Regions from separate parts of the Homo sapiens genome. Here region 2 is linked to region 1. The links are contacts of gene promoters, found by promoter capture Hi-C in human tissues and cell types (Jung and others, 2019). All regions are on one chromosome and are shown on one strand. Each heading gives the region's core, a stretch centred on a gene start or on the middle of the fragment in contact. The rest is flanking DNA. Distances are from core to core; before and after follow the strand shown.

What was found. The method cuts DNA at HindIII sites, captures the fragments that hold promoters and counts their contacts. A contact is called where the count stands out against the background at its distance.
Region 2: a fragment that was not itself captured here is called in contact with the fragment with the promoter of ZMAT4 in region 1 in 2 of the 25 tissues and cell types used here (dorsolateral prefrontal cortex and hippocampus).

The regions. Positions count from the first base shown.
Region 1 is chr8:40,895,762-40,899,501 of GRCh38, forward strand. ZMAT4 (zinc finger matrin-type 4) reads right to left here and starts at 2,065. Exons shown (of 7, transcript NM_024645.3): 1 at 1,922-2,065. The HindIII fragment of the contact is 9,161 bases long and covers 1-3,740 here.
Region 2 is chr8:40,662,828-40,666,567 of GRCh38, forward strand. The region is part of intron 5 of ZMAT4 (zinc finger matrin-type 4); the gene reads right to left. Among named protein-coding and RNA genes, the nearest start is that of ZMAT4, 230 kb to the right of the region's middle. The HindIII fragment of the contact is 5,848 bases long and covers 1-3,740 here.

The sequences.
Region 1 (3,740 bases), core at 815-3,314:
CAATCCTCAAACTCAAAAGCATTTTCTGGTTTCCTTACTGCCTTCATGAAAACCAAGGTGCTCTCATGCAAGATCCCCCACGTGCTGGGGGCTGCCCCTCCTGGGCTCCCTGGGGGTCACGTGCCCTGGAGAGGCCACAGAGGACGACGTCCATGACTAACCATGCCCACCGGCTGGGAAAAGTTCAGCTTCCGCTCCAGGCCCCCCAAACACAAAAAGATTATAATTGGCAGGGCTGCAAAATTGTTTTGTTTACTGTCAGATAGGAAGTACAGAAGAGAACGCTGATGGTATTTTGACACCCCCCCCAAAAAAAAAGTGGGCAGGCATTTTTTTAACCATTGTGAATAGAGTTTCAATAATCACAGTTCCCACCCAAAATAGCTGCCTACAGGAGGTGGAGGAGAATCTGTTGTGGTGGTTAAAGAAAATAAGAATTAAAAAGTGGAAGGGATTTGTGGAGCTGGAGAATCAAGACTGTCATCTGCATCTCCGTGGAAGGGTGCCCTGAGGAAGAGGTGTCACTGGAGAATCCCTCCCAGAACATGCAGTCTTGTCAGGACTGGGAATCGAACTCCCCAGCTGCGGGTTTAACGGAAATCAGAGGGATGAAAATCATCTAAACTCTTCAATGCCCCTAGGACTTGGAAGATCACCCCCAGACTATCAGCTTCAGAGTATCCCGCAGGTAGGCAGCGCAACTGGTGAAGTGCGGTGGGCACACAAGCAGAAGCTGCCTTCGCAGAAGAGGAAGAAAGTTCGAGACCAAGCACATCGCCTGCTTCCCCATGGGTCCCTGCTTCCTAGTGACTCACCTACCTAATATCTCCCTTTAGCAGAAGCCAAAGGCGGAGGAGGCAGGGGGAGAAAGGAGTTTCCCAAGGGTCTCAGAGCAAGAGAGGCCCCTGAGGTCTCGCGATTTAGAATGCTCAAGGGTGCTTCTGGGCTGAACCAGCTGCCTGCCGGGGTGAGCTGTTTTACTTCAAGAGCAGTTAGCAGAAGCAGTGTGGATGGTGACTTCAGCACCACCTCTGCCACAAATGCACCTGTGCACCAAAACAACCTGCGCACCTACACGGAGCCACCCCCTCCACCAGCCTCCACCTCCCAGAGCTGCGGGGATGCTCCGGGCCAGGCACCCCTTCTGGGGACAAGGGTGTAAGCTTCACATGGTACCAAACCGAACTCTCTATCCCGTTTTTTGGCTTTTTCTTTTTTTTTTTTTTTCAGGATACCCCAAGCCTGGAAAGTCTTCCAGAGTTTTCGGGAGCTAATTAATTATGTGATTTCCTCTCCTCTGAGAACTGTTTTGCTGGCGTGTCACCAAGTTGTCACGTAGGTGCCCACCAGGTCAAACAGAATAGACCATCCTCACCCACCCACCCCGGGGAATGTCTCCTTCCACCAAATAAAATGAACTGAGACAGGCAGGAAGGAGGCAGAAGTTTGAGGAAGGACTCCAGTTGAAGGTCACAATAGTTTGGGGAAGGCAGATCAAGGTAATACGAAGGGGACAGACCCTATAGCGGAAAACACAAACAACCAATCACGTTTCTCTCGGAACCAGCCTATCCATGATGGGTGCACCAGGAAACAGCACACCCTGGGATCCAACTTCTTTCACCCAGCACACCCGAATCTCCACCCCAGCCCTGCAGACACCCTAGCCTGAGACCAGACCTATTTAGACAGACCTGAGCGCAGCTAATTAGGAGTAGTAAACAAGCCCATTTCTTGCCAGCGCAGAAGTTTCCCAAATTGTCCGCTTGTTTTCCTCCCAACAAAAGACAGTGATTTCCCACCTTTATCACATTCCCTCCCAGAAACTTTTCTTTCTGCAATCCCTCCACCTAGGCTAAACTGCAAAGCCACTGGCAATGGAGACGCAGGCGCTGCACCCCCGGGACGCAGGCAGAGGTACCTTTTCCGCGAGGCAGAGGGGCCGCCGGTGCCCAGAGGCCAGCTGCCCTGCCGAGCAGTAGAGCGAAGCTGTGGGCTGGAGCACGCTGAGGATTACACGTTCCTGTCTCTGCGACCAGACCTTTCGGCAGCTCGGACCAACTGTGCTAGCGATGCACTTAGCAATTATCTGCTGGCTCCGACGCCCCGCCCTCTGCTCTTGCGATTGGCTCTCCAGTCCCGGGCAGGACTGCATTGGTTTCAGCCGACCTCACTCATTGCTTTGGCTCCTACTATTATCTAAGCCATCAAAGGAAATAATTCCATGTTTCATTGACAACCTGTAAGGCTCTCCTCCAGCCCAATGTGGGGGCAGGACCGGGAGGCCAGTGGAGAGAGGGGAGAGGAGTAGGAAAATGTGGGGGAGCGGGGTGGGGGAAGGAGGTGGAGGGGAGAGGAAAAGAAGGAGAAACTGTGGGGGGGTAGGAGGGTAGGAGGGAGAGAGAGAGAGAGATGGAGCTATCAAGCAATCAGATTCTTGCTCTAGCATTTTAACTTCCACAAAACAGAGCCCATAGCAACAATTTTCTGGCTTTATTTTCCCCCTAACTGGTAAATGTTGCTGAGGGCAGAGAGAATAATAACTATGGGGTGTCTGCCGGCATGAGACAGACTCTAGAAAGCCGAGCAAGGTTGAGGGCTGAAGGGATGGAGTAATGCTTTTCACAGGGCCACCCTGGAGGACATGTGAAGGACATGGCAGATTGCTTGGGGAGCATAGTAGGTGCATACCTGGAGTTTATCTATCAGTACTTTATCTCACAGTCCCCCTCATCCCCCAACCTGAGGAGACAATTTTCCTTTGCACCCTGTCCAAAGAGTCTCAGAAGAGCTATTCTTAAAATCCATAAAACTCTGGAGTTTCTCACTGTTCTCACTGGGAGGTCCAGAAAGCCGAGCATTCTAGAGTGAATGATTCTGCTGGGACCCTCACTTTGGTTTATTCTGACATGGCTTAAATTAATCGCTTAGACTTTCATCAACAACCTACGCACGTGAAGAGAGAACATACCCATCAAAGGGTGGGGACAGCTTAAACACTTTTCCTTGTTCACCAAGAAATCATAAAGTCTCACCCTAGTTAAAATGGCTTTTATCCAAAAGACAGGCAATAACAAATGCTGGCAAGGATGTGAAGAAAAGAGAATGAACCCTCCTACATTGCTGGTGAGAATGTGAATTAATGCAGCCACTATGGAGAACAGTATTGGGGTTTGTCAGAAAACTAAATATAGAGCTACCATCTGATCCAGCAATCCCACTGCTAGGTATATACCCCCAAAAAAGAAATCAGTATCTTGAAGAGATTCCTGCACTGCCATGTTTATTGCAGCTCTGTTCACAATAGACAAGATCTGGAAGCAATGTAAGTGTCCATCAACAGATAAATTAGATGAAGAAAATGTGGTACATATGCGTAGTGGAGTACTATTCAGCCATAAAAAGGAATGAGATCCTGTCATTTACAACACCATGGATGGAACTGGAGGACATTCTGTTAAATGAAATAAAACAGGCATGGAAAGACAAACTTCACATGTTTTCATTCATTTGTGAGAGCTAAAAATTAAAACAATTGAACTCATGGACAGAGAGAATAGAATGATGGTTACCAGAGGCTAGGAAGGGGCGGGGGTGGAATGGTTACTAGGTACAAAAATAGAGTTAGATAGAATGAATAGGATCTGGTATTTGACAGCACAACAGGGTTATTACAGTCAGCAAAACATATTGTACATTTTAAAATAACTGAAAGAGTACAATTGGATTGTTTGTAACAA
Region 2 (3,740 bases), core at 311-2,810, 230 kb before region 1:
GGCTCATTTTCATTTTGCTAACTGGGAGAGCACTCTGAATAGTGCACCAAGAAATATATCTTTCACTCGTTCCACTTTTCCCCCTTGACCTCTGCCTTGGTCTCCTCCAGGCCCTCAGCAGGCCTCTGCATGAATTCGATTTGGTCTCCTGGCTTTCAGAATCTCCTCATTCCAATGATCACATCCTCTACTGACAAGTATTCATCTCTCTACTCAAAAACACATCAGTGGCCACCAAATACAGTTCCGCTTTGCCTGACATGCAAGGCCATTTACAATTTGGTTCCAATCTGTCTTCTCAGCCTTCTCTTACCTTCATCTAACCCAAGGTCCCATCTGACCTGAATGCTAGTTATGATCACCCTTCCCCATCTGGCCTGTAGTCATGCTGATCTCTCCGCTCTAGGGAAACTAGCCACCAACTTCTACATATCTCAATGCTAACTTCAAGTTGGAAGTCGTTTTTTTCTGTGTTCTCCATTCCCAAAGCATTGTGGTTGGAGGGCTCCCAAGCTTTTTTTTCACATTTTGTGTTACGTTTATTTCAATAAAGATATTATCTTCTCCCCCTCCCTTCCTCAGACTTCAAACCCTTTGAGATTAGAGGATGAGTCACATTCCCTTATAAATTCAAGCACAGGGCCTCTCACATAACAGGAACTTAGTGTGTTTGAATAAGTGAATGAATGAATGAATGACAAAATAAGAGAACCAAAATTATCTCTTCTATATCACACTATTTTCCCACTTCATTCCTACCCCAATAATATGACAGGAACATGAGCCATTTAAGCAGTTTAATTATCTAATCCAAAATGTGGGCTCTGAAGATCAGAGTGAGTCTACATAGAACAGCTGAGGTGTCAAAACACATTAAAAATAATAATGCAAAAATAACCAGGTGTAATCTAAGCTGAGTATTTTCTCTGGCACCTCTTCACTAACATTTAATTTAGAATTGTGTTCTATAATTATCGTATGTGTTTAAGGGTCCTATTTTCTGCTGATTCTTAACTAGATACAATACATACAGCTTTCAGAGATTGAAAATATTAGTATAAAGAGAACTAATGCTTTTATTTTAATTGATTAAATGTAATCAAAGTACATATTATTTGACACTAGTTTCTGTCAAGTATTCAGTACTTGAAAATGTTGAATCATCGGTTTGAGACCCATAATTCTGACTGTACCACAGACAGTGGAGAATGTGGAGTGTAGTTTTTCCACTGGGTGACAGGAGGGAGACCGATCCTCCAGGACTTCTATCAGCAACACCTTGTTTTGGGTACTGTGGGTGATATGAAGAAGTTCTAACAAATAGAATGTGTGGAAGTGGTGCTCAGAGACCTTCAAGTGTAATAGAAAGGGGAGCTTCCTCCAGATGCTGCCTTGGGTCACTCACTCTGTAGGAAGCCAGCGAACACAACACCAGTACATTCAAAACCCCAAGGAGAGGCCCACAAGGAGACAAAGGCCTCTCACCAATAAGCCAGGTGTGTGAGTGAGCTGCCTTTTCTCTCTTCTTCTACTTAGCTTTTTAAATGTACACACTGCTCTCTTGTTGGTGCATAGCTATTCAGATTTTGACAAAACCATAAAACCAGGTTGCCACCACCATGATCCAAGTATAATTTCCATTATGCTTCCAATACCCCATTATCATCCATCTGTCCTGCCCTCTGCAATGCCTGGCAACCACTAACCTATTACCCAGAATGCAATGAGCTGGCTTTAGGAGTAGACCCTCCAGCCTCGTTCAAGCTTTCAGATGACAGCAGCCCTGGTTGATGTCTCTGTTACAATATTATGAAGAACCTCAAGGCAGAATCACTGAGCCAAGCCACTCCCAAATCCCCTCATGGAAACTGTGAGAGATGAGAAGTGTCATTTGTCGTTGTAAGCCACTAAGTTTGGAGGTAATGATTGCACAGCAATAGTTGCATTGGTTACCTTATAAATCTTTTTTAAAATAATTATTGCTATTGATATTTACCTAGAATGTCTTTCCTTTGATTGGTCTTGGAGCAGACCCACAGCCTGAGTGCCCATGCACAGGTAACTTGGGTACCTGAAGGTAGAAAAGTGTCACCACATTGACATGACTAAGATGTCCACTGCCTGAGATGTGGACAAAGGCCATGCCAAGGTTAAGTGGAAGAAAATATGAAGCAGTTAATCCTCTGTCACTTGAAAGCTCACAGCAGAAATAATTCAAAACGTAAAGCCCTAGCCAGGCGTGGTGGTGGGCACCTGTAATTCCAACTACTCAGGAGTCTGAGGCAGGAGAATCACTTGAACCTGAGAGGTGGAGGTTGCAGTGAGCTGAGATTGCGCCACTGCACTCCAGGCTGGGTGACAGAGCAAGACTGTCTCAAAAAAACAAACAACAACAAAAAAACACACACACAAAAAAAACAAAAAATGTAAAGCCTCTCAACCACCAGGTTCTGCTTATCTTGTGGCAAATCTGTTTCTCTGTCGCACATACTACTTTCATGATTTGAAGTCCTAGATAAGCTGCCTGCATCCTCTTGCAATCCATCCCCATTTCCACACAGAGAGGCAGCAGCTGCATTACAGGGGGAGCTATTGTACATTCTAGGGGCCTCTCCAGCAGTATGTCTTCTCTTTCTAGAACTTTGCCTCTCTCACCCAGGCCCCCATGAATAGTGACTACAGTTCTTTGCATGGCTATGTTCACTCCAGCTGAGATGAAGTCATGAATGTGGGGGAAAGTCCTTTGTTAAAGGTACATAATGCGTGTTGCAAATAATCCATTCCCAGAAAACTCAGAGTTGGCTGTGCTTATTCTATACTTCAGTTCAAAGCAAGTTTTCTACACAAAAAATATTCAAGTCTCCCAAACTCAACTGTTTAAACAAAAGAGTTAATTACTCAGGATTCTGGGTGGTCAATGATGAATCACCAGAAATTGTGACACCCTCAGTGAGGAGCCATGGGTCTACCCTGAACTTAGAAGGGGACAGTCACTTCACGTCTCTGGGCCTCAGAATCATTCTCTGTAAAAAGAAGGGATATAATTCAATGATATTGACTGTCTTTTCCAGCACAGCTCAGCTTACGGTTCTTGGAAACATTATTAAATTTTTTAATGAATTCTTTTGTTCTGTGTCTTCAGATGAGAATTACAATAGAATAGTCTCGTTTCCTCTGCAACAATAAAATAACTGTGCATTTTTCCATCCTAAAGTATTTAAAAGAATAAATGATAAAGGTCTGCAAAATGAATATTCTATCTTAACCTAGCCATAATTTTATAATTTACATTGCCACTGTTTCTAAGTAAGAAACTGCCTTCTATCTGTGTTTTATACTGGCAAGAAGAATTTAATCTATAAAGAAAACCTCTAAAGTACTTTCAGACCATCGAAATTTATAATTCCATAACTCAATAACTTCCTTTGTTTTCTACATTACATTACATATTCAGGAAGATAAGACTTTTTTCTTATTAATTTAAAACTTGGAAGTAGAGACAGGTATCATCTTTTTCTGGAACAAATAACACTAGAGTTGAGTCAGCAATCAAGTTATGCATATTCATAACCATCTAGGCCAACCTCATTTATAATTCTTTGTTAATCTATAAAAATAATTTTATTTTTAAAAATTTGATTTGCTACTTGAAGCAAAGGCAAGAATAACACAATTTCACAGGGTTCCCAATGATTAATGTGAAAATTAAAAAAATACAAAAGGAGGAAATTATTTGCACT